Regions from separate parts of the Homo sapiens genome. Here all the other regions are linked to region 1. Evidence: promoter capture Hi-C in 16 types of primary human blood cells and fetal thymus (Javierre and others, 2016). All regions are on one chromosome and are shown on one strand. The core of a region is centred on a gene start or on the middle of the fragment in contact, and the rest is flanking DNA. Distances in the headings are between cores, read along the strand shown.

Region 1 (4,594 bases), core at 1,047-3,546:
CATGCCTGTAATCCCAGCACTTTGGGAGGCCGAGGCGGGTGGATCATGAGGTCAGGAGTTCGAGACCAGCCTGGCCAGCATGGTGAAACCCCGCCTCTACTAAAAATACAAAAATTAGCTGGGCATGGTGGTGCACGCCTGTAATCCCAGCTACTTGGGAGGCTGATGTACAAGAATCGCTTGAACCGGGGAGGCAGAGGTTTCAGTGAGCCAAGATTGCATCACTGCACTCCAGCCTGGGCAAAAGGGCAAGACTCTGTCTCAAAAAATAAAAATAAAACACATGAAGGAATTTCACAGAGCTAAAGGTCAAGTGCCTGAGAAAGAAGTTTGCCCATAAAATGCTTTGAAAAGAAAGGAGAAGGCCAGGCGCAGTGGCTCACGCCTGTAATCCCAGCACTTTGGGAGGCTGAGGCAGGTGAATCACCTGAGGTCAGGAGTTCAAGACCAGCCTGGACAACATGGTGAAACCCCATCTCTACCAAAAACGCAAAAATTAGCCGGGTGTGGTGGCAGACACCTGTAATCCCAGCTACTCAGGAGGCTGAGGCAGGAGAATCGCTTGAACCCAGGAGGCAGAGGTTGCAGTGAGCCGAGATGGCACCACTGCACTCCAGCCTGGGCAATGGAATGAGACTCCATCTCGAAAAAAAAGAAAAAGAAAAGCAAGGAGAAAGCTACATCTATGAAAAAGCTAGGCACTGTCAGATGTGGTGGCTAACCCCTGTAATCCCAGCACTTTGGGAGACCCAGGTAAGAGGATGGCTTGAGCCCAAGAGTTTGAGACCAGCCTGGGCAACAACATAAGACCCCATTTCTCCAAAATATTTTTAAAAAACGGGGGAGGAGAGGAGGTCAGGCATGGTGGTGCGTGCCTGTGGTCCCAGCAACCTCAGGTACTAGGGAGGCTGAGGTAGGAGGATTGCTGGAGCCCAGGAGGTCAAGGCTGCAGTGAGCCGTGACTGTGCCACTGCACGTAAGCCGGGACAATAGGACAAGATCCTGTCTCAAAAAAAAAAAAAACAAAGAAAGAAGGAAGGAAGGAAACATAATTTAAAAAATCAAGTCCAAAAAAAAGCAAGCAAGAAGTAAAAAAAAAAAGCTCAGCACTGTCACAAGAAATATATGGCAAGAAAAGCTGGCAATTTCTATATACCTGTGAAACCCAAATTGTCACTTGCCTTAAGGATCAAATGTATCAATGGTGTGAGCCCAAAACTCTGTTGCAACTTCTTCACTTTCCCCAGATCTTCAATGGCAGCTTTGTTAAACTCAACAAGGCTTCAGTTAACACGCTGAGGATTGTGGAACCATATATCACATGGAGTACCTGAACCTGAAATCAGTAAATGAACTGATCTACAAATTGGTTATGGCAAAATCAATAAACAAATTACCTTAACAGATAACGCTTTGATTGCTAGATTTCCTGATAAATATGGCATCATCTGACTGGAGAATCTGATTCATGAGATCTATGCTGTTGAAAAACTCAAGTTCCTGTGATCCTTCAAATTATCTTCTCCACGAGGGAGAATGAAGGACTACCTATTTTGTATTAATAAAAGGTATAAATGCCAGCAACAGAAAAGACTATATCAACAGGCTTATTAAACGGATAAACTGAAGCATCTAACATTATTTTTGTAATCTGGTCAGTTAATAGCCAGTCACTACTTTCAAACTGGAAAAAACAAAAACCAAAACAAAAATGTGACTGACTCCTTCAAGACCAAAATACACCACTTTTTGCCTAGACGGCACTTTGAAATAGAGGGCAATACCATCATATTTCACGCTTGCCTTTCTACTTTTTAATACAGGTGAACTTTTTCTCCTTAATAGGAAAGAACACCAAGTAAAGAACAAATAGCAGTTATGGAAAATAGTTGCAAAAACTGCAGGGGGCTACAGAACAAAGGACTGAGTGTAGGCAGAGAGATAGAGATCCCCGAGGTGTGGGGCAGAGCCCACGCATCTGAATTCCAAGAACAGGCGCTTTCTGACAGAGAATACCAGGAAATGACTTCACATTTTTCCAGACTATCAACATACTTCATTCTTCCCAGTAGGAGAACCCAGGGCCTGTTCCACGCCCACAGACTTTGGTCAGGCAAAGCGGCCGCAGGGCGTCTGGGCTAAACGCAACCAGGAACACATTGGCAAACTTTTGCGCCTGCGCCCACCGGGCGTGCACCTGTAGGCTGAAGTCGCGCATGCGCTAGATGGGAACGTTGTTTCTTCTCCCCTACCCCTTTTCTGTGGGTCTGTTTTAGGGACAGACTGCTTCCGGGTCGAAGGGCTTGCTTCCGGAGAGCGGGAAGGCTAAAACGCGGTAGCTAAACTGCAGCCAACTTTGGTTGTGTGTGGAAAAGGCTTTAGCCATGGACAGGTCAGTACTGATGGTGGCAGCTGAGCCCGAAGTCTTGCCCGTCTCGCCTGTTGGCGAAACGAAATAGGTGAAACTAGACTCCCAGAAGAAGCCAAGGAGGTCCCGGGTGCTTCCCCTAAGGCTCCTTCCCCATGCCGGGAAATTTGGCCACAAATGGGGAAAAAGCCGCTTGGCGTGCGTCGGGGTGGGGTACAGATCATAATAGTCCCTTACTTTCCCACTACGTTCTGCGATCTATTCGGCGCTTTGGGGCAGCAACACTGTTCGCTCCTGGGGTGGGCGGGGTAGGTAGCGCGGCGTTCGAAATGCTAAGTGACCAGCCTGAGATCACAAAGCCAGTCAGTGAAGATACTGGGATCTCAGCCCAGACTTTCTGATTACAAGTGCCAGCATCAGATTCTGAGTTCCCTCTATGATCTGGGTACTGTGCTAGCCGCCTACAACAAAGATCAGTTATTCAAGATCCTTCCCCTCGGGGAATTAGTTGTGTAATGGAGACAACCAAGCAGTGTAAAGTGGTAAGTGTTTGGGGGCGATTAAGTCTCCTTGTCACTGTAACTATCAGGAAGACCCCTCAAAGAAGGTAACTTTCTAGCTGGTCTTTGAATAATAAGAGTACATTATTCGTACTCCAAACATTGAGTACCTACTATGTGACTGCCATTGTTCTAAAGGCGTTGAATATATATTATTAGCTTATTTAATCTTCAGAACAAGAAAAATCCTATGAGATGGGTACTGTTATCCTTTTTTCATATATAACACTGAGACTAAAAGAGGTTAAGGAACTTGCTGAAAGTTCGGAAGCTAATAAATACAAGAACCAAATTGCCAACCTGCATCTGTGTGTCTCCAGCCTACCTGAGGCTCTTTGAGGAGTAAGTAGTTGTTGACCAGGTGCTCAAGGGGGCAAATGTAGGTCTTTGTAAAAGAAGCATATTCAGAGGTGCTAGGATATGAAAAAAAAGTACGTGTAGCTCAGTGGTCACATGCAGTATACGTTTAAAGTGATGTTTGTGGCTGAATAGAAGACTGAACCCCTAAACTGGGGTCACATTGTAAATATCATTTTAGGAAATTTTTACTTCTATAGACCAGAGAGCTATCTGAAGGTTTTTTTTTTTGTTTTTAATTTTAATTGTTAAACGTTTAAAATTGTTTCTATGTGGTTGTTTCCCATACTTTCCTGCTGAAGGAATATCTGAAGGTTTTAAGTGGAGGAAAAGCATATTAGATTCTTGTCTTAAACACAGGCCTTTTAGTCCGCACAATTTAGTTTCTAGACCTTTGAGTGAAACTGACAGGGAGTGTTGTGATGGGACAGGAGACCTCCTGGGTTGAAATAACTTGAAGGGTCATTTTGCTCCAATTTACCACAATTCTTTTACTTACCCTTCTATCTCACAAGCTCTGTTTGTTGTTGTTGTTGCAAGCTCTGTTTGTTGTTGTTGTTGTTTGTTTGTTTTTTAATAGTACCCATGGTTTAAAGCATTTTGGAGACTGCAGAAAATCTTTTAAGAGAGAATTCCTGCAGTTAGGTAACTCCTCAATCCAACAAGGGAAATAAGATTCACTTTCATGAAGCAATTATCTAAAACAGTGTTATAATATAGATTCCAAGTGTTGAAATAATTCCTTAGGAGAAAATAACATAGTGAGTACTAGAAAGTCAGAGAAGTCTTTGTGCAGGTAAGATTTGAGTAAGGCTTTGAAGAATAAGCAGGATTTGGAGCCAGGAGTGCGTTCTCAACAAAAGATCTAAGACTTGGCTACTAGAATGACTATACCTTAACTTACTCAGGGTCCTTTACTCCAACTGTGATGATAAAATTCTTTATAAATGCTATATTCTCGTTTCACTTATATAAGCTTGATTATACTACTTTAGGAGTGGCTTTGGAGAGATATCATCCCCTGTAATCCGGGAGGCAGAGGTGACACGGACTGCACGGAAACAGAGTGCTCAGAAAAGAGTTTTACGTATCCTTTGCGATTTAAGCATCATTATAAAAATTGTAACATGTTTGGAATCAGTGTTGTAGAATTTTCTTTTTATAAGAGTATTAAATGGTAGCTATAATAAAATCCTGTAGAAACTTTTTTTCACTCCACAGAGCTGTCATTTGGTAAATATAATGCAAAAATTTAATGAGATCGTATTTCCCTAAAAATAAAGATATTTCTTACTGCTGACAGCTTCTG
Region 2 (4,594 bases), core at 1,260-3,759, 500 kb before region 1:
ATGTCATTGAGATAATGTGGGGAATGGGGGCTGTTGCTATTACAATGCAACTTCTAGGATCCTCCCAATGGGAAGAATTGGCTAAAGTAAGATAAAGGGCAAGATCTGAGTGGAAGGGAGATCAGGAATGGAGAGACCAGCGTGTTTGAAGTACCACATGTACACATATTGAAGTGTATGATATGAGGTGGTGTTGGAGAGTGTGACAGTGAGCAATAGGTAAAATCTTTCTAGAATGAGGAGGAGCACCTGAGGGATCAGTACATGATGACCATGGGGATTAGTGCATAATGTAGTCTGATGATAGGATATTTAAAGCAGGAAGACACTAAAGAGTTTCAAGAAGAAGAGAGGGAGAATGGGGTGTGCCTTGATGAAACACAAGAATGGTACTTAAACGACCTCCACCTACATGCCCAGGGTGCAAAAGAAAAGGGAAAGAAAACAGATGCATCTAGAGAAATCTGCAAAGGAACCAGGTCTCCAAGGGACAGTCTGGTCAGTTACAGTAAGAAAGCAAAGTTCAGAGAAAATGTTAAAGATATAAGGGATCTTGCTGGTGACTGACAGTGAGTTCAGGGGACACACTGAAAGGGTTTCAGAAGCTGGAGATAGGTGGAAGATGAAGTGAGGGAAAAGGAAGTGCAGTGCCATCACGGAAATGAAAGCCTTGGGACGGAGGGGTCACCTGGATGTCCTGGGCTTCTTGGGCCCTCCGTCCTAAACAAGCATAAAGAGCATCACGGGATTATCCTTGGTAGTCTCAAAGCTGAGAGTCATGGGGAGGCTGTGAACATTGAAGATCCTACCAGGGACACAAAATTACGGGTCCCTTCTTCAATCCTGCCTGTGGTTAGCAGGAGGTTGAGGGAGCGATGGTCCTATTTCCCAGAGGAATAAGAGCTCTGGGCTCCTTCAGGAAACCTGGGGAAGAGGATGCCCAAGTCTGCATGAATACCAACAGATGAGGCCATCGGAAGAAGGGCTCCTAAGAAAGAGAAACCACACACAGAAAGGAAGAAGTGAATATGACCCATGCTCACACACCAACATGCCTATAGCCAGGAGGAAATATGAGAGCTAGGAGGGAATTTAGGAGTCTCTGAATTGAAAGTATTCGTTTCAGTGAGGAGGAAACTGAAGTTTAGAGACGTAGAATAAACTTATTGTAAGAGGAACCTATGTAATATGTCTTAGAAAGCTCTCTTTCAAAATCATTATCCAAAAAGGAAAGAATGGGCCACTTAAAGGAGTATTGATTTATTAATCGGGAAATTTGCTTATGGAAAATAGGCAAAACTTGCTTCGAAATGCTTATCACAATCCACCTAAAATTTCTGTTGGCAGCATCATTATCTGTAGCTGCTTCAGTGGTGACACTAATAAATTCACATTACAGAATAGTAGTAAAGGATTTATTTTTCTTTTACATTTTATATTATGGTCACCAATTGTGAGCTCTGAAGTAAAATGTCCTGTTACATGACAAATTTAAAACAATACATTTTAGAATTTACCTTGACAACACTCTCAGAGAAGATTATTTTAGAAACTATTGATAAATTAAAAATCTAAGTGAATTATATGCCTAAAAGCTTTCTTTTAAGTGATACTTGAGGGGAAAAAAACGTCATCCCAACATTTTTAGACATTGAACTTTACAAGTGTAGAAATGGTCACAGAAAGCCTATGTTATTCTGAAATATATTTTGTTTCAGCTATGTTTGTGAAAATTGACCAGCTACTTGACAAATCTAGATTTTCTTAAAGGCACTCAACTAAATGCTATTGTCTCCTAGGACTTGTCTTGGCCATTTTGATTATCATAACTCTCCAATATAGGCTTTAGGATTTCCAAATTCATACTCTGAAGCCCAAAATTATTCCCACTATAATTTAGAGTTAGCCTTTGAAATAACTTATAGAAAGCATTAATTGATTCCATATCTAGGGGCCTTCTGAGTTGTTTATAACTTATATATATCTACATATATATTTATTGATAAAATTTTATTTTTAATATAATTTACAACCAGATTTCTCTTACAAAAAAGATTCAATCTATTTTAAAAGTATGATAATCAATTATATTATATAATTTGTGCCACAATTCATACTTATCTATTGATTTAGAAACCACATTCAAGATAATCCTCTCTACCAAGAATTGGCCCCCAGCGTAGCAGCAAAGCACCATTAACTATCATTTCCACCGACAGCTGAAGTTGTGGTTTTGCATTCAGCACTTTTTTCCTTGTGTGGAGTATAGAACAAAAGATGTTACTAATGTAATAATGTGAGTCATCATCCAAATCTGTGGTTACTACTACCATGAAAAGTTTTCTTTCTCAGTAGGAAAGTGTCATTGGTCATTCCCAAGATGTTACAGATGAACAGAAAAAAAGTGAATATCGTTGGCACTTCCATTTTATCTAGGAAATAAAACTGAGTTCCTCACTTGTGGGTAAAGGCAAGTCACTGTGGTGACACACCATGTTTTTTCAGTAGATGAGGTGAGCAGGAAGCAGCAATCTGAGATGTCTCTTCAGTGCATTTCACACTTACGACATTCACTTTGTTTCAATAAATACAAATAGCAAACATAAAAATTATTATCTATATATACTTATTAAAATCTCTTCTAATCTCCTCCAAACATATTTATCATATCAGCATTTTGCTTCCTTAAATGTTTTTCTTATTCTTTGAAGAGAAATCCAGTAGTTGTTGTTTTTCTTCTTCTTCATTAATAATACACTTTTCTAGCTCTGCTTCATCTCAAGATAACCATTTGTGTGAACTGGTGTTTTCCAAACTGTTTTCTAGGTAACAAGGCATTTGATCTGACTAAGTGCCTACAAGGCCAATGTATTCTTGGAAGAAACAATCTTCTAGAAACTCATATTAAACAAAGTTAAAGAGTTGTTTTAATGTGGAACTTCTCCAACCTGTAACATTCTGATGGGCTTTATAATTCCCCATACAGAAAATATAGTTTGCACCATTTTCTTAAACTTGTTAAATAAGAAAACACTTTTGTAAGTTTAAAACAGGAAAACTAATATGTTGAGGAAATACTATATATTCCATGCAATAGAGTGAGAAAAGCTGATTTCAGTCACACATTTGTTTCTTTCTTATGGGCAAAGTACACCATTACTTTGTGGTTAGTGCTTGCTGTTATGTCCAAGGCATCTATATTATTATGATGACCAGATATTCATGGTTTGGTGCCAACTTCAATTATGTGGTCCCATTGTCCCTCTGAGCATGTTAGAACTTTTCAGAGTTTGCTGCCCAATTTTTCATTCAGAAAATATATTCTCTGCATATATGGATAAATAATTTGGTAAATCAAAAGAACATAATCTTCCATAGTTAAGAAGTTGTTTCTGCCATTTGTTAAAAGTAACCAGATAACTAAGAAGCTTACCTGAGAGAAAATAAGGCACAACAGGTGAATCAGAGAATTGTAAAATCTTCTAGATCATGGCTTTAACTTCTTTCATGATAATTATGTGATGCTACTAAAAATATTTAACATCCCCAAGCCTGTTTCTACATCCACATAAATTACAAAACCAAAATCAATAATCTTTTTACTCTCTACTCCTTAGTCATTGTAAGGATCCTTCAGGTCTGTGCAAAAATGTCACCTCATTGGTGAGCTTTTTCCTGACCAGCCCTTTTTTTTTTTTTTTTCGGAGACAGAGTCTCCTCTATCACCCAGGCTGTAGTGCAGTGGTGTGATCTCAGCTCACTGCAAGCTCCGCCTCCCAGATTCACGCCATTCTCCTGCCTCAGCCTCCCAAGTAGCTGGGACTACAGGTGCCTGCCACCACACCCGGCTAATTTTTTTGTATTTTTAGTAGAGACAGGGTTTCACAGTGTTAGCCAGGATGGTCTCAATCTCCTGACCTCGTGATCCACCCACCTCAGCCTCCCAAAGTGCTGGGATTACAGGAATGAGCCACTGTGCCCAGCTCTGATCAGCCTTTTTTTTAAGAGCAAACCAGTCCCCGCCCTTCCCCAGTCCCTGAAACCCCCCCACTCCTGCTTGTTTGTTCTTGTTATTCTGACATCCTTTATGTTTACTCCTTTGTTTATTTCTGTGTCCCCCTATCAAGAATGGTATGTTCACCTGTTTAACGTTTAGGACAGAGCCTGACACTTAATAAGTAAAACAAATAAATCTTTGTTGGCTAAATGAGTAAAATACACAATGTAGTAAAATTTGAGGAAACACTTGGAAAGCTATATCAGAATAAAACAGCAGAACCGTAAATAGTTTCCACAAAATCAGGTACATAGAGAAAGCTCAGCATGTATTTATAGGTAATCTTCAATCACACTGGGAAATTAACCAAAAGGGAATATTCATTGTGGGCTACAGTGGCCATGCAAGACTTAGTAGAGCAGAGGAGATCATGAAGAAAATATATAATTTATCTTGAAATAAAAGAGTAGAGAAGACATAGCAGATGGACAATCTGGCACACAGAAGGACATGAAAGCAGAAATAAGCTTGTCTCGTGTTGGGGGCTTTTTAAAAAAATAGACTGATCTTGAAGGAGGCATACATGTCAAAGGGTAA
Region 3 (4,594 bases), core at 1,536-4,035, 330 kb before region 1:
ATTACCATTAGGTACTAGTGTTGTTTTCACTAGCAGCTTGTACAGGGCCAGACATATCTCAGGGAGACCAAACAAATCTTCAGAAGCAACCCGCATGTGGAGAAACCATGTTGCAGAGTTTGAAACCTCTTAAGATGGAGTAAGCAAAATCATCCTCCTAGCTCAGCTGCCTGGGAAACTTGAGCCCCTGGCACCTGAACATCACCACGGCTCCAAGCAATGACACCATCTTTTGTTCTCTGGTTTATTTTTCTGCCTAACTCCTTCTGTCACCTGCCTCTTCCCTAGGGACTGAGCTAATAGAAGATTGGTACCTCTCTCAGCAAGTCCATCTGGTTCATTGAAATTTATCTCACAAAGAGTAGCAATTTGAAAGATGGGAAGAGTGGCACAAAGTGGTTTAGTTTCTATAAGTGCCCCCCCCCCCCGCCAACTTTGTGGGGGAAAAAAAAAGCAACAGCTTCCCTTTCACTGCAGCAGCAACCTGTAAGGTAATGGATCATTTCAGGGCATTCAGATCTGGCCTACATTGGCGCTGATATTTATCCGGCTTATTCTGGTATTTTCTTCAGGTTAAACTTGTACTACTTCAGTGTCGCACTGACAGTGACTTTCTTTCTTAATGTTCACAACCTGGAGGGAGTGAACAAGGCATATACAAAAGGTAACAACACATTCACAATATAAACAAAGAGCAAAGAAATCTTTATATTTCCCTGTAGATTCCTGCTATTTTAAGAAGCAGTGGTGGTTGTGCCACTTATTCATTTTTTAGCTATGAGTCGGATTTGCAGCATTCTCCTCCCTAGTCTGTGGCTAGAATAGCGTTTTCCAAACTATGGGCCCTACTGCTAAAGAACACACAATCTGCCTGGGTTTGAATCCTTGCTCTACTACACTAGCTGTGTGAGTTTAGGCAAGTTACTTAATGTCCATGTGCCTCAGTTTCCTCATCTGCAACATGGGGAAAATAATAGTGCCTATTTCTTTTTGTTTGTATTTGTTTCTGTTTTTGTCTTTTGAGATGGAGTTTCACTCCGTCTTGTTGCCCAGGCTGGAGTGCAACGGCACGATCTCGGCTCACCACAACCTCTGCCTCCCAGGTTCAAGCAATTCTCCTGCCTCAGCCTCCCGAGTAGCTGAGATTACAGGCATGCGCCACCATGCCTGGCTAATTTTTTTTTGTATTTTTAGTAGAGACGGGGTTTCTCCATGTTGGTCAGGCTGGTCTCGAACTCCCGACCTCAGGTGATCCACCCACCTCAGTCCCCCAAAGTGCTGGGATTACAGGCTTGAGCCACTGCGCCCGGCCAATAGTGCCTATTTCATGAGATGGTAGTGAGAATTAATTTAGTTAATATAGGTGAAAAATGTAAATACTGACTGGCTAATTGTAAGTATTAAATATTATCATTATTCAATTCTACAGAACAGTAGTTCCAAGAGATGTTTCTAGGGAAACAAGAGCCTGTGGTCAAATAAGATTGAAAACGCTTCACACTAACATATGTCATCAAATCTACAAAGTTATTGATTACATACCACTAGGAAAGAAAAAGCAATGCCAATTAAATTAGGACACAATGCTTTCCCCAGGGATTTGGCGATTTTCCTGGTTTCAGTTGTGTTGCTCCCTTGGTGAGTGGTAGCCACTCCTTGTGCGCCTACCTCGGTAACAAATATAGCCCTAGCTACTGGGTATCTTCCTTTCTTAAGTTCTATCAAGCATTTGGTTATTGCTTTGCAAGAAGATAAGGAACTGTAGTGCTGTGGGCTAGATGTTTGTCCTCCTAAAATTCATACATTGAAATCCTAACCCCCAAGGTGATGGTAACAGGAGGTGGGGCCTTTGGGAAGTGATTAGGTCCTGAGGACAGAGCCTTTATGAGTGGGATTAGTGCACATTAAAAAATGCCTGAGACAGGAATATTCAGCCCCTATTCAGCCTGAAGAAGTTACAGAGGGTGACTCTTCATCCCTCTGTAACCGTTAGGATTAAGGGTCCCCTTGTAAAAAGGGAGGGGAAAACATGTCAGAGGCATTTGAACCAGAGCAACTCCATCTTGAATAGGAGCTGGGTAAAATAAGGATGAGACCGACTTGGCTCCATTCCCAGGAGATTAGACATTCTTAGTCACAGGATGAGATAGGAGTTTGGCACAAGATACAGGTCACAAAGACCCTGCTGATTAAACAGGTTGAGGAAAAGAAGCTGGCCAAAACCCACTGAAACCAAGATGGGGATGGAAGTGACCTCTAGTCATCCTCACTGCTCATTATATGCTAATTATAATGCATTAGCAAGCTGAAAGACACTCCGCCAGTGCCATGACAGTTTACAAATGCCATGGCAATGTCAGGAAGTTAACCTGTATGGCCTAAAAAGGGGAGGAACAGGAACCCTCAGTTCAGGGAATTGCCTACCCTTTTCCTAGGAAACTCGTGATAACCCACCCTTTGTTTAGCATATAATCGAGAAATAACTATAAGCAGCCCATGTGGCTACTCTGCCTATAGAATAGCCATTCTTTTGTTTCTTTACTTTCCTAATAAACTTGTTTTCACTTTAACAACAACAGCAAAAAGGCCTGAGAGAATCTCATTGACGCTTCCACCATGAGAAGACATGGTGAGAAAGCACCATCCATGAACCAGAAAGTGTATCCCCTTACCAGACTCTGAATCTGCCAGAGCCTTCACCCTGGATGTTCTAGCCTCCAGAACTTCGAGAAATAAATTTCTGTTGCTTGTAAGCTACTCGGTTTGTGGCATTTTGCTATAGCAGCTCAAATAGACTAAGACATGTAGTTAACCTACAATGATGAGCTTCTGCTGCTCTAAGATCTTGTATATACCCGACTGCTCTGTTTCCATACCTTTTGACATATACAGTAACTTTTCATGTCAATACCAATTCATGGTGTGATCTTTATGAAGATACTTTAAAGAGCAATGAAACATCATTCTATGCTGTGCTAGGAATATACCTAACTCAGCTGATGTGACAACAAAAATAGCTATGGCCAACATCGCATGTACCCAGGCAATGACAACCATGGCAAAACTGCTGCCTGACCAACAACTGCTATAAGATACCACTGACTGTAAGAAGCATCCTACCTCAGAGATAATAAAGTACAGAGGGAAGTGCTACTTAGAATTGATGAAATATTTATTCCCCCTTTAAGAGATCACCAATGCATATTAACATATTAAAGGTGCAAGGAAGCCCTGCAGTAAAGAAACCCTCTTCCCTGCTTTAAGCCAATATTGAACCAGACAGCCCTCTTTACAAGTTATACCTATCAACATGTTGGCAAATTCATATCAACATATTCTACTGAAATAGAATCTAACAAATCTGAGCATAATCAAGTAATCACAGGGAATTTTTTCAACCGCTTTATAGTCAAGCAGCTATATAGTCAACCAGGAAGACTGACCTGGTTGTGGAATCAAAGACAGAAAAGTAGCCCCCACAGAAATCCTAGAGACTAATGATGATAAGTCAATATCTCCATATTCTTAAAGAAGACACTTGCCGGCCGGGCGCGCTGGTTCACACCTGTAATCCCAGCACTTTGGGAGGCTAAGGCAGGTGGATCACCTGAGGTCGAGAGTTTGAGACCAGCCTGGCCAGTATGGTGAAACTCCGTCTCTAATAAAAATACAAAAGTTAGCCAGGCATGGTGGCACATGCCTGTAGTCCCAGCTGCTCAGGAGGCTGAAGCAGAAGAATTGCTTGAACCCGGAAGGTGGAGGTTGCAGTGAGCCAAGACTGTGCCACTGCACTCCAGCCTGGGTGACAGAGCAAGACTCCATCTCAAAAAAAAAAAATACAAAAATTAGCCAGGTGTGGTGGCATGCACCTGTAGTCCCAGCTACTCGGGAGGCTGAGACAGGAGAATTGCTTGAACCTGGGAGGCGGAAGTTGAAGTGAGCCGAGATCATGCCACTGCACTCGAGTCTGGGCAACAGAGCAAGACTTTGCCTCAAAAAAAAAAAAAGCACTTGCCTCATCCCCAAGTCCAGAGTTTTTATCACGATAAGACTAACTCCTTAGAACCAGTCAAATTCCAGTTTAATAAACACTATGGAGCCCTTGATATACATTAAGTCCTGAGCTCAGCACCAGAGCTACGAAATGCTTATAGGACCTCTGTTTCATCATCTGCAAAAACGCAATAATAATAATAACACAATAATAATAGTATTACTGTATGTATGCAGTGAAGTACTGTATGTACAGCACTTAATATAGTGCCCTGGCTTGGAGGGTTGCAAGTGTCATTCCAGTGAGGAAGATGGAAGGGAAATGTAGGAAATGCCGAAGAAGCACGAGCCACTGGGAGCCATGGGGGCCACTGTCATTCCCCTGTCCCTTATTCTATAAGAGCGATTGCTATAGAGGCTGCTGAGCAAATGGCTTACTGTCTTCTGGTTTAGTTTTAACTTTAGGTTCAACTCATTCAAGTTCTTTTGTGCCCACAAAATCACAAGAATGAAGTGAGGCTTTAGCTGGGCTGGCATCAGTCATCTGTCACCTGCATAGGCTGGGGTTCAGCAGTGCACAGCAATGACTTATTTCATCTTC

The links. The method cuts DNA at HindIII sites, captures the fragments that hold promoters and counts their contacts. A CHiCAGO score of 5 or more calls a contact.
Region 2: a fragment that was not itself captured here is called in contact with the fragment with the promoter of NUP107 in region 1 in 2 of 17 cell types (activated CD4 T cells and naive CD4 T cells); the score reaches 6.7 in activated CD4 T cells.
Region 3: a fragment that was not itself captured here is called in contact with the fragment with the promoter of NUP107 in region 1 in 16 of 17 cell types (total CD4 T cells, naive CD4 T cells, naive CD8 T cells and 13 more); the score reaches 22.5 in total CD4 T cells.

What each region holds. Positions count from the first base shown.
Region 1 is chr12:68,684,682-68,689,275 of GRCh38, forward strand. NUP107 (nucleoporin 107) reads left to right here and starts at 2,297. Exons shown (of 28, transcript NM_020401.4): 1 at 2,297-2,392; 2 at 4,281-4,372. The coding sequence starts at 2,385. It overlaps LOC100507250 (a long non-coding RNA gene), which reads right to left and starts at 2,178. Exons shown (of 3, transcript NR_038930.1): 1 at 2,056-2,178; 2 at 1,182-1,336. It also overlaps the pseudogene RPL7P42. The HindIII fragment of the contact is 6,312 bases long and covers 1-4,259 here.
Region 2 is chr12:68,187,677-68,192,270 of GRCh38, forward strand. All of the region lies in intron 1 of LOC105369818 (a long non-coding RNA gene), which reads left to right. Among named protein-coding and RNA genes, the nearest start is that of IFNG, 30 kb to the left of the region's middle. The HindIII fragment of the contact is 1,833 bases long and covers 1,594-3,426 here.
Region 3 is chr12:68,350,170-68,354,763 of GRCh38, forward strand. No RefSeq gene overlaps it. Among named protein-coding and RNA genes, the nearest start is that of MDM1, 20 kb to the left of the region's middle. The HindIII fragment of the contact is 6,840 bases long and covers 1-4,594 here.